Linked DNA regions of Homo sapiens: regions 1, 2 and 4 are each linked to region 3. Evidence: promoter capture Hi-C in 16 types of primary human blood cells and fetal thymus (Javierre and others, 2016). All regions are on one chromosome and are shown on one strand. The core of a region is centred on a gene start or on the middle of the fragment in contact, and the rest is flanking DNA. Distances in the headings are between cores, read along the strand shown.

Evidence for each region. Contacts are between HindIII fragments. The CHiCAGO score rates a contact against its expected background, and 5 or more counts as called.
Region 1: a contact is called between a fragment that was not itself captured here and the fragment with the promoter of CDS1 in region 3, in 2 of 17 cell types (non-activated CD4 T cells and activated CD4 T cells). The highest score is 6.2, in non-activated CD4 T cells.
Region 2: a contact is called between a fragment that was not itself captured here and the fragment with the promoter of CDS1 in region 3, in 3 of 17 cell types (M0 macrophages, M2 macrophages and M1 macrophages). The highest score is 6.9, in M0 macrophages.
Region 4: a contact is called between the fragment with the promoter of GPAT3 here and the fragment with the promoter of CDS1 in region 3, in 2 of 17 cell types (M0 macrophages and M2 macrophages). The highest score is 6.8, in M0 macrophages.

What each region holds. Positions count from the first base shown.
Region 1 is chr4:83,479,170-83,482,121 of GRCh38, forward strand. The region is part of intron 2 of ABRAXAS1 (abraxas 1, BRCA1 A complex subunit); the gene reads right to left. Among named protein-coding and RNA genes, the nearest start is that of ABRAXAS1, 4.5 kb to the right of the region's middle. The HindIII fragment of the contact is 5,215 bases long and covers 1-2,952 here.
Region 2 is chr4:83,554,647-83,557,699 of GRCh38, forward strand. The region is part of intron 2 of GPAT3 (glycerol-3-phosphate acyltransferase 3); the gene reads left to right. Among named protein-coding and RNA genes, the nearest start is that of GPAT3, 20 kb to the left of the region's middle. The HindIII fragment of the contact is 1,882 bases long and covers 779-2,660 here.
Region 3 is chr4:84,581,172-84,584,425 of GRCh38, forward strand. It overlaps CDS1 (CDP-diacylglycerol synthase 1), which reads left to right and starts at 1,956. Exons shown (of 13, transcript NM_001263.4): 1 at 1,956-2,347. The coding sequence starts at 2,231. It overlaps LOC102723338 (a long non-coding RNA gene), which reads right to left and starts at 1,050. Exons shown (of 8, transcript XR_007058460.1): 1 at 378-1,050. RefSeq lists silencers at 1,563-1,772, 1,813-1,912 and an enhancer at 1,749-2,702. The HindIII fragment of the contact is 8,586 bases long and covers 1-3,254 here.
Region 4 is chr4:83,534,684-83,537,593 of GRCh38, forward strand. It overlaps GPAT3 (glycerol-3-phosphate acyltransferase 3), which reads left to right and starts at 1,425. Exons shown (of 12, transcript NM_032717.5): 1 at 1,425-2,080. The coding sequence starts at 1,940. The HindIII fragment of the contact is 15,854 bases long and covers 1-2,910 here.

The DNA of each region.
Region 1 (2,952 bases), core at 15-2,514, 1.1 Mb before region 3:
GGGCGGGCAGATCACCTGAGGTCAGGTGTTTGAGACCAGCTTGGCCAAGATGGCAAAGCCCCATCTCTACTAAAAATACAAATATTGGCTGGGTGTGGTGGCAGTCGCCGGTAATCCCAGCTACTCGGGAGGCTGAGACAGGGATAATCACTTGAACCCGGGAAGCAGAGGTTGCAGTGAGCCGGAATCCCACCACTGCACTCCAGCCTGGGTGACAGAGTGAGACTCTGTTTCAAAAAAAAAAAAAAAAAAAGAGTATGGGGACCTAGGCACTTTTATATACTGTGGAGAAGCCTAAAATGGCATAAGTTTTCCAAAAGGCAATCAGCTAGTCTACCTCCAGGAGTGTGACTTTCAAATATACACTCAACAGCACAAAGAAATGTACAATACTAAATGTTCATGGTAATACTGTTTATGTTAACAAAAAAACCCAGAAAATCATTCTTAGATGGTTAAAAAAATTATGGTACGTCTATACAACAGGATATATGCAGCCAGCAGAAAGAATGATGGGCCGAGTATGGTGGCTCACCCCTGTAATCCAAACACTTTGTAATGACAGGAGGATTGCTTGAGCCTAGGAGTTTGAGACCAGCCTGGGCAACAAAGTGAGAACCTGTCTCTACAAACAATAAAAAATTAGCCAGGCGTGGTGGTGCATACCTATGGTCCCAGCAATACAGGAGGCTGAGGCAGGAGGATTGCTTAAGCCCAGGAGGTCAAGGCTGCAGTGACCAGTGTTTGTGCCACTACACTCCAGCCTGGCTGAAAGAGCAAGACCTCATCTCAAAAAAAAAAAAAACAAAGAGTGATGAATTATACACACAGATACTATTCTGTACTTGTGATATCTTGGGAGATATTAGGCACATATAGTAAGATCCCATTTGTGTAAATAAAAAGTATACACATTTGGCCGGGCATGGTGGCTCACGCCTGCAATCCCAGCACTTTGGGAGGCCGAGGTGAGAGGATCACTTGAGGTCAGGAGTTCGAGACCAGCCTGGCCAACATGGTGAAACCCCATCTCTACTAAAAATACAAAAAAAATTAGCCGGGCATGGTTGCGTGTGCCTGTAATCCCAGCTACTCCGGAGGCCGAGGCAGGAGAATCGCTTGACCTCGAGAGGCAGAGGTTGCAGTGAGCCGAGATCATGCCACTTCACTCCAGTCTGGGCGACAGAATGAGACTCCATCTCAAAACAAAAACAAAATGTATATATACACATATATATACACACACACATTTACATTTGTGTGTTTTATGAATATTGCAAGCTAGTAAGAATCCATGAAATAGTAGTTGCCACTAAGGAAACTAATGAGAGTTTAAATTTTTTATTTCCTACTTTATATATTTCTATTTTTAAACTTGTAAAGTAGCAAACAAAAATAACATACAGTATGAGTACAAACTGATATAATCTTTCCGGAAAGCAATCTGCTAATGCAGATCAAAAACCTTACAAGTGTTCATACCCTGTGACACAGTAATACCATATCTAGGAATCTATAATAGATAACGCCAAATATTGATATACAAGGATATTCACTGTAGTATACTTTATGATAATGAAAAACTAGAAACAGCTGATTATAACATATTTAAAGGAATGTTTAAATCACAGTAAGGCCACAGGGTAGAACACAATGCAGTTATGAAAAATAGTATTGTAGGCCAGGCATGGTGGCTCACGCCTGTCATCCCAGCACTTTGAAAGACCGAGGCGAGTGGATCACTTGAAGTCAGGAGTTCAAGGCAAGCCTCGCCAACATAATGAAACCCCATCTCTAATAAAAATACAAAAAGTTAGCCGGGCGTGGCAGCACACGTCTGTAATCCCAGCTACTTGGGAGGCTGAAGCAGGAGAATCGCTTGAACCTGGGAGGCGGAGGTTGCAGTGAGCCGGGATTGCGCCACTGCACTCCAGCCTGGGCAACAGAGTGAGACTCTGCCTCAAAAAAAAAAAGAAAAGAAATGAAAAATAATATTGTAGAGGATTATGCAACATTGTAAAGTGATCATGACACAATATGATGCCAAACCTTTTATAAAGTACACTACCAATTTTGTTTAAAAATACATACACATATATAGAGAAAAACTATATTAGACAATCAGAAAACTCCCTATACATTTTATTTCTTTTAACCATTTTTTTCCCTATGCATTTTAAAGGTTCTCCCCTGCTTTTCCCTAAAAGAGAAGCTGCCACCAGTTATAACTGCTTTAGCACCCACTCCTCAAACCCTTTACAGCCTGGTCTCTTCCCCATTACGCTCCAGAAATTACTGAGGATTTTCAGTCATCTAATAATCTAATTACTGCATTTTCTCAGTTCTCATCTTCCAACTTTTCTGCAGCATTTAACATTTTATCTTTTTCCTTGGTCTTCCTATTGCCGGGCCATCTTCCTACTAAACAGCAGGTGTTTCATCCTTGTTTCCCTGGCAGTAATCTTATCTGCTTCCTAAGTCTCATACTATTTCTTACTTTAGACCAGTCCATGGTCATAATTTTAACTGCAAAATGAGTACAACATATCCTTTTAAATTATTTTAAAATTAATATATATTTCTTATTTTTCTTTTTTTGAGACAGAGTCTCGCTTTGTTGCCCAGGCTGTAGTGCAGTGGCACAGTCTCGGCTCACTGCAACTTCTGCCTCTCAGGTTCAAGCAATTCTCGTGCCTCAGCCTCCCAAGTAACTGGGATTACAGACATGCACCACTACACCTGGCTAATTTTTGTATTTTTAGTAGAGATGGGTTTCACCATGTTGGCCAGGCTGGTCTCAAACTCCCAACCTCAGGTAATCCGCCTCGGCCTCCCAAAGTGCTGGGATTACAGGTGTGAGCCACCTTGCCCAGCCTCTGTATTTCCTAATTTAAAAATAATAATTTACGCTGACCCCTTTCAGCATAAACTATCAAATATAGGAGACACAGA
Region 2 (3,053 bases), core at 470-2,969, 1.0 Mb before region 3:
GTTTGTCTGTTCTACTCAAAAGCCCCTGTTACCACTTTCTACTACTGTCTTACTATGCCTTCCTTACTAGCTCCTCTGGTCCATACTTTCTGATTCTCCTCTTGATGTTTAAGGTGACTCCTCTTCTACACATGGAATGGAATGGAAGCTCCCTCTTTTTTTTTTTTTTTTTTTTGAGATGGAGTCTTGCTGTGTCACCTAGGCTGGAGTTCAGTGGCGTGATCTCGGATCACTGCAACCTTTGCCTCCCGGGTTCAAGTGATTCTCCAGCCTCAGCCTCCTGAGTAGCCAGGACTATAGGTGTACGCCACCATGCCCGGCTAATTTTTATATTTTTAGTAGAGACTGGGTTTTGCCATGTTGGCCAGGTTGTTCTCAAACTCCTGACCTCAGGTGATCCACCTGCCTTGGCCTCCCAAAGTGCTGGGATTACAGGTGTGAGCCACTGCGCCTGGCCTCCTCTTCTGAGAGTTGGCTTTGTCACTGTGACATAATAAGAAATATGTATTAGACTTCTGCTCCCTCTCCCTTTCCTGTCACATAGGTCCTAAAACCTTTGGCATCTCTGCAGTGATAAGTGATAGTGTCTTTGTGTATGCTGATGAGATGACTGGTGGCTGGGAGCTCCTGGATAGATAGCCTCAGGATGGTGGCTGATTGCCAGGGGAGCCAAACATGTGATTACAGGGTTGGAACTTTCAGCTCCCCTCCATATTGCTCCCCAAAGGGCAATGATTAAATCGATCATTTAATCATTTTATGGAAGCTGATGTCATGAAGCTTCCATAAAAACTAAAAAATACAGGGTTTAGAGAACTTTCAGATTGTTGAACACATCCAGGTGCCTGGTGGGAGGTGCACCCCAGCTTCATGGGAACAGAGGCTTCTGTGCTAGGGACCCTTCTGAACCTTGTCGTCAGTGCAGTATTCATCTGGCTGTTCATTTGTGTGCTTTAAAATATCCTTTGTAATACATCAGCACTAGTAAGTAAAGTGTTTCCCTGAGTTCTGTGAGCCATTCTAGCAAATGACTGAACCTGAGGAAGGGACTATGGGAACGCTCAATTTATAGCTGGTAGATCAGAAGTACCAAAGGCTTGGACTTGCAATTGGCACCTGAAGTGGAGGCGGTCTTGTAGAACTGAGCCCTTCATTTGTGGAATTTGACTCTAACTCCAGGTAGATAGTGTCAAAATTTAATTGAATTATGGGACATCTAGCTGGTGTCGAAGAATTGTTTGGTGTGGGAGAAAAACCCACACATCTGGGGTCACAGGAGTGTTCTGTGTTTTGGTGAGAGTATAGTAGAAGAAAAGTCAGTTTGTTTTTTTCTTATTATATAGTCACTTACCAGGAAGCTCCTAACAGTTTGTCCTTATCAATGAAATTTTTGAAGAAACAAATCTATTAAGAATATTTAGCATTACAATCAAAGATACCATACATAAATGCCAAACCACAAGGCTGACATTTTAAGTGAATTAATGGTTCATTTGACAGTGGAGTTTTATGAATGCTTCTGTGCTGTGGGATTTCTTGTTTAATCAAGTTAGCTGTATCCAAATCAACAGAGTTAATGTGGGCTGCCAGCCAAGATGTAGGTCAAGAGTGGGTTGTTAAAATGTTAGTCGTTAAAATGAAACTCTGTTAAGACCATTCTGGCCAACATGGTGGAACCCTGTCTTGACTAAAATACAAAAAAATAGCCGGATATGGTGGTGCACAGCTGTAATCCCAGCTACTTGGGAGGCTTAGGTATGAGAATCACTTCAATCCAGGAGGTGGAGGTTGCAGTGAGTTGAGATTGCACCACTGCACTCCAGCCTGGGTGACACAGTGAGACTCAGTCTCAAGAAAAAAAAAAAAGAAAAAGAAACAAACAAAAAAGGGAACTCTGCCTGTTATTCTCAACGCTATTTTTTTTTCAGTGCTAACTGACAATTGATTAGTGTCCTCAGCTCCACCCCATCCCCATTTATGCATCAAAACTCACAGTTAATTATGTGGCTAATATTTATATTTGGGGTTAAAATTTTCCTATTTTATAATCAGCATTGATTATTTTGTAAGTTTTTGGAGAACTACTGGAATATGCAATGATGAAAAAAGAACTAGATTTTCTCATCTACGGTTCTCAAAAAAAAAAAAAAGTAAATCTATTGCTTCTAGCCTAGTATTTGTCTTAGTCCACTCAGGCTGCTATAACAAAATACCATAGAGTGGGTGGCTTATAAACAACAAACACTGATTTTTCACAGTTCCGGAGGCTGGAAAGCCCAAGATCAAGGCCCAGCTTCCTGGTTTGTACAGGGCTGTCCTTTTGCTGTAACCTCACATGATGACAGGAGTGAGGGATCTTTTTAGGACCTTTCTTATAAGGGCAATAGTCCCATTCATGAGGGCTCCACCCTCATGATCTAATTACCTCCCAGAGGTCCCACCTCCAAATACTCTGACATTGGGGATTAGGTTTCAACACACTAGTCTTGGCAGATGCAAAGATTTAGTCTATGGCAGTACATTTAACTTGGTTTTGGTAACTGAGAGATGCTAGCAGAAAATTACTCAGTTATAAAAAAGGGGAGGGGTACAAATTATTCTATTACAAATGTGCAAACCATGTAGCAATCGGAGTATTGAAGTTACCTTTATTTTAGTAAAGCTTTTGATTCTATTCTAATCCCAAATAACAGGGTCAGCAAATCCATTCTGTCTGTTCCCTTGCCATCATCCTGGCAGACATCACTAGTTGATGAAGTTTGACTCTAACTTAGGGGTATCCAGTCTTTTGGCTTCCCTAGGCCACATTGGAAGAAGCATTGTCTTGGGCCACACATAAAATACACTAACACTAACAATAGCTGATGAGCTTAAAAAAAAATTGCAAAAAAATTTCATAATGTTTTAATGTTGAATGTGGCCCAACACACATTTATATGCAGCCCACAGGCCATGGGTTGGACAAGATGCCCTAAACCATGATATGTCCTCAGAACTCTTTCATGCAATCCAGCAGACAGCTACTCATGTCTCATTGTTTTGGAGTTGGCCTT
Region 3 (3,254 bases), core at 706-3,205:
GAGCAGAGCTTAAGGAAGGTGAGGTAAGTAGAACCTCACATTCTATTTTGGCAGTCTTTGCATTGGTCCCACTTTTCCTGGGTTGGGGAATACTGTTTCTTCTATCACGCACTACTGTCCTCTGTTGTTCCCCTCTGTCACTCCTCTCACTCTCTTTTTTCCTCCTGCAGCAAAGGGAAAAAGTCAAAGAGGCCATGAGAGGACTAGGCAAAGGGGAAACAGGAAGTTGTTCAGGTACCTTGTGTAGTAGGTCTCCTTTTCTTGGACCATGGGGGAAAGCAAAGGCTGGATTCTGATCGTCTAAGAGCTAAAAGGGACCACAGAGGCCATCCTTACTATCCGTTTACAGCTGAGGACACTGAGGGTTAATAACTTACCAAGGCCATGCAATTAGTGGCATTGGCAGCACTAGAACTCAGGCTTCTTGACTTCCAGAGAGTTAGAATGGAGCACTTCTAATCCTTTATGCAGGGTAGGGTAGTAGCCAGAGATGGAAACCCTACTACTGGCTTCAGCCATTATTCTGATTATCTTCTTCACTATCAAGCACTCCTTCATTTCCGATCCTCCAAACAATTGGACAATTTATTAATGTAGTCACCCCATAGTTCTCTGTTCAGTAGGGACTTATTTTCAAATCTTCTCTGTCATTTCAGTTATCCACCCCATAAGGAACAAATTATGGTTTCTCGACATCCTTTTGAAAACGTGCAACCCAAACTAACCGCACAGCTTCAAAGATCTGTTTGGTGAGGTAAAATGATGTCTTTGTGTTCTGCTTTTCAATGCATCCTAATTTGACTTTTGGTTTTGCTCATTTGTTAGTAAATTTTCAACACTTTACTTACTTTTACCGTGTCAGTAAAGACCTTGAGGAATTTACATAGTTGATCTATTTCTATAAGGGTGCTCTCCTGAACCTTGTCCTGTGTGAAGGCCCGCCTTTTTTCTTTTTTCTCTTTGTTTCTCTCTTTTTTTCATTTGTTAGCTTGTCAGTAATGACCGGGTGGCGGATACATGTCAAGAAAACTAATCACCTTCTAACAGGATTAAGACTAGAATTAATGCAGATCTTGTGCCCTTCCTGTTCCCGCTTTGGCAGCCCAAGGTCCACCACTGCTCAGAGACTAGCTGGAGGGCAACGGCGTCCCATAGCATCTCACACTGTGTTGGGATCCTAGGTGGTGACCTTTGTGAGATTCAGTACTGAGTTTCTGGGAGACGGCGCTGCGGTTGTGATCGGAATTGTTGGCCGACGCACCTCTGGACGCCCAGTGAGGCAAAAGCATCTCCTGTTTTCAAGGTGATGACACTGGGCTGGAATGCCGCGGGGCCAACCAGTCCGTCCTGCCAGACAAGTTTCTGGTCCAGTGAGCCTCCGACCCGCCGCGCGTGTCAAGCTGACAAGGCCGGGGAGGCGTTTGAAGCAGCAGTGTTGAGCGCTGTTAACATTTAGCGGGCGTCTTTGAGTAGCTCCTCCAGCCCTCGCAGCGGCCCAGGGACTAGCCTGCAAGTTCTCAACGCTCACTTCCAGCCCGCGCTGGCCCCGCCTCCGCCTCCCAGCTCCTCAGCCTCCTCCCGCCCCACCGCTCCCACCTTTTCTCAGGCCCCCACCTGCCAGCACGCAGAGGCGGGGGCGGGGTCGCGGGCCGGGCTCCTGACGTCACCTCACGGGGAGGCGGGGCTGTGGGAACCGCAGTGCAGCGCAGAGGGGCGGGGCCTGCGGCGCGAGACCTGGTGCGGGAGGCCCGGGCAGGGAGAAGTGTGCGGGGCCGGGACAAGCCGGCTCCGAGTCCGGCTCCGGGGGGCGGGGCGGGAGGGGCCTGCGCGGCGGCGGGAGCCCAGAGCCGCGCTAAAGCGGGTCAAGCGTCCTCCTTTTCTCCCCGCCCCTTCTCCTCCTCCTACCTGGGCCTCTGCGTGGAGACGCGCACCTGGCAACCGGAGGCCGCGTCTCCGCCTTCTCTGCTCGCGCCTGGCGCCCGGAGCCTGCCCGGGACCTCCGCCGGAGCCGCGCTCGCTGCAGGCGGCCTCGAGCGCTCTCTCGTTGATGCCGTTTTGGAGGTGACCGGCGCGGCGGCCGCTCTATGGTGGGGCCGCGTTAGTGGCTGCGGCTCCGCGGGACTCCAGGGCGCGGCTGCGAGGTGGCGGGGCGCCCCGCCTGCAGAACCCTGCTTGCAGCTCAGGTTTCGGGGTGCTTGAGGAGGCCGCCACGGCAGCGCGGGAGCGGAAGATGTTGGAGCTGAGGCACCGGGGAAGCTGCCCCGGCCCCAGGGAAGCGGTGTCGCCGCCACACCGCGAGGGAGAGGCGGCCGGCGGCGACCACGAAACCGAGAGCACCAGCGACAAAGTAAGTGGAGCCGAGAGAGGCGGACGCCGCGCCCTGGCTGGGTCCTGGTTGGAAGCGGGACACTTGAGAGCAAGGGTGGGGCCCGTCCAGCGTCAGGTGAGGCTGCACGCTGCCGGTGCACCTTCCTCCCTGCCTGGCACTGCTTCCTCCTTCTCCAGAGGGGGTCGGGACCCGGGATCCCAGTGGCGGTGAGGTTCCCAGGATGACCGCGGCCGCTGCCCGGGAGAAATGGGCCACTCAACCCGGCTTACAGTTTAGCTTCATCCTCTTCCGGTCCCTTCTTCAGGATCTGGGGCCGACGCTGGAATCAGGAGGGAACCTGTCCTCCTAGGGGCTGCAGTGCAGTTAGTAGCTGCCACCTCACCTCTCTTTTCAGTAGAGGGAACAAAGTTAGTAAGGACTAGAGACGTGCCACCGTCGGCTGTATCATTTCATCGGATCCTGACGCGGGAGGCTTGGCTTCTCGCGCTGCCCCATATGCACTTACATTTTCTCCATCCTTTTTCAGTATGATAGATTTTGGAGGTTTTAGAGTATCATGCACGTGACATAATAGTAATCTTCCAGCTTCTTTTGAGTACACGACAGACAGTGCAATTCTTCTGTCTACCAGTAGATTTCATATAACCCGACGTTAATTCATGAAGACTTTTCACTTCCTTTTCTATAGATTACTCTTCTTTCACATTTAAGAATAAGTAGATGCGATATTACTATCTGTTTAAAGCTAGAAAAGGAATTCGGGCGTGTTTGGTAATATAGTGGTGCAAGTAAGAACTTGTGAAGAAATGCAGTTTTATGATCTTATGGACTGGATGGTTTGGGAAATTGGACCAGAGAATAGATTGTTGTATCAAACCGTCTGTTTAGAAAATTCCATTTTATTTGAGAAACCCAAAACACGTAA
Region 4 (2,910 bases), core at 175-2,674, 1.0 Mb before region 3:
ACAGAGGTTTAATTTTGAGAAACCAAGCTCCTAACACTTCTTCATTCATAACCCTTTTTTTTTTTTTTTAGACTGAGTCTCACTCTGTCTCCCAGGCTGCAGTGCAGTGGCACGATCTCGGCTCACTGCAACCTCCTCCTCCCGGGTTCAAGTGATTCTCCTGCCTCAGCCTCCTGAGTAGCTGGGACTACAGGCGTGCGACACCACGCGGGGCTAATTTTTTTGTATTTTTAGTAGAGACGGGGGTTTCGCCATGTTGGCCAGGCTGGTGTTGAACTCCTAACCTCAGATGATCTGCCCGCCTCGCCTCCCAGAGTGCTGGGATTACAGGCGTGAGCCACCGCGCCCGGTCCATAACCTGGTTTTAATCATCAAGTTATAATTTTTTCCGTTCTTAGTGTGGGAGGGGGCTTGTGACAGCTACCTGGCAGTAAGTACTTAAGGCAGACATCTACATTCTTTACAGAGGGGCTTGTCACTTCGTTGGCTCCCCACTTCCTCCACACCCTGGGCAGGGACCATTTTCTCTGCAATATTTGCTATCAGCGCTGTTTCAATTCAGTTTGCTGGCCCTCTCAGTTTTTTTCCAGCTTGAAACAACACCTGAAAAGTACCTGTAAGAGATTTTGGTCGAATTCAGCGGCAATCTGGAAAATCCCTTCTCAAAATCCCTTCTGCTCATTCTTAAAAATAGTTCTGGTCTCTAAGAGAACAGCAATGTAGTAAATAACATACAGGGTTTTGCCCTTCGTTGCTCTGATAAGGGCTGGCGCGGTAGAAGCGCGGAGCCTGAACACCCAGGAGACACCTGTCAGCTTGGTGAATGAAGGCTTGCGCCGGCCTGGCATTTCTGCTACGCCTAAGCGCGGATAGTATTGGCTGAATGGTAGGGGAAGGTGTGGTTGGAATCTTCCCCCAGAAAGGGAGTGACAGATACTTAGCCGCAGGGTTTCTGTGCCAGGGAGATGGCGGCTCAGTGGGCTAGGCAACGCGTGGAGAGAGCTTCCTACTCTCGGGATAAGCAAGATTGAGCCCCACAGCTGTAGGCCATGTGGGGAAGGAGGTGTGGAAGCCAGAAGCGGCGTACACGGCTGCGTGGTGCGCTCTGCGTTTTCCTGTCCTTGGAAGCCCTTTCCAAGAGTTCGTTTTACACCCACACAAACAAGACCTCAAGCGTCCCAGATACGTCAGCAGTTCATTCTGCGGGTGAAGAAAATATTGACATTTTTCAGATGAAAACTCTCCTCCTGAAAGGACCTTTGCTGAGTGCTGGGGGAGGCGGGGCGCGGGGAAGAACGGAGACCGCCCAGGAGGCTGCGGCACTCCTGGGCTAAGTACTGCCAGGGAGCTCCCCCGTTGGGTGACGGAGGAGGTGGGGCGAGGGCAGCGCGCAGAAATAGGGCGCTGGGCGCCCGAGCGCAGCCAGCTTCCAGCACAGCCCGCGGCCCGGTGCCAGCTCCGCCGGCGACCGGTGTGCCAAAGTGCGGTGCTCCCGCAGGGAACCTGGCTCGGGGAGGGCCTCCGTGAGTCATCTGCTGAGTTGTCGCAATCGCCACCCAGAGGAAATCAGGCACCGGGCGGGGCGGGTTCCTGGCTGCGCTCGCGCGCTCTGCCCGCGCCGCGGTGTGCCTCCGCTTACCCGCAGCTCCGACCACTGGCTCGCGCTACCCAGGTCTCCGCACGCCGCGGTGGCTTCAGCCCAGACCTGGGCAGCCAGCGGAGAAAGAGTTAACTGGCAGGGGCGAGGAGGAGCCCAGGGAGGAAGGAAGGATATTGCCGTAATTCTGAAAGTTTTTTTCCTTCCTCTCTTCCCTTCGCAGAGGTGAGTGCCGGGCTCGGCGCTCTGCTCCTGGAGCTCCCGCGGGACTGCCTGGGGACAGGGACTGCTGTGGCGCTCGGCCCTCCACTGCGGACCTCTCCTGAGTGGGTGCGCCGAGTCATGGAGGGCGCAGAGCTGGCCGGGAAGATCCTTTCCACCTGGCTGACGCTGGTTCTCGGCTTCATCCTTTTACCTTCGGTCTTCGGAGTGTCTCTGGGCATCTCCGAGATCTACATGAAGATCCTAGTGAAAACTTTAGAGGTGAGTGCCGGGAGGGATGCAGCCAGCCCCACACCGCTGCGGGCTGAGAACCCGGGGGTCCAGTTCTCAAGGTCAGTGGTCGCGAGTCAGGGGTGTGTGTGCGCGCGTGTGCATGCGTGCGTGCATTTCTGTTCCTTGCCCGCAGCAGTGCGAAAGTCAGCATCTCGGCTTCTTTCGCGGAGCTGGAGGGATCTAGGCTGGAACCACTGGACCACTCTGTTGTTTCTCTGGTCGAAGGCGAAAAAATCATTCCACTCCCTGAGCATCGTTATTATTTTACTGATTAGAATAACAACAATGCGACCAACTTTTTGTATCAGAGGATTTGCTTATATCCATTATGCAGTGCAGTTTCCGCTTCACCCGCTTGTTTTTACAGCCCCAGGTTTCAGAGGTCCTTTTGTGTACTAAGGCATCCAGTTCAGAAAGGCATCATGTTCTTCTTTATGCCCAAGATAAGAGACCAATTGCTGGATGGCAGAAAGAAATCTTATTTTATTTTAGTGGAGTCATGGAAATTTTATCTAACCAACAGCACTTGAAATGCCATTGAAAAGGTATATATTCTTTGACCTCAGGTCTCCCTACCCTCCTGTTTCCAAATCCTGCAAAGAAAAATGTTAGATGGAAGTAGGCCTGGTAGAGAACAACTGCAGCTTACTCTTAGGGTTTTATTAAGTGTCAAAAGGCTGGGTAGGGTAGGGAGGGCAAGTGCCAACCCCCTTTTACAGAGAGGGAAACTGAGAGTCAGAGATCAGTGGTTTCTTTGAATTAAGTGTTAGAAGCAGGAGTCTTTTTTTAAAAAAAAATTTAATTATATGTATAATATG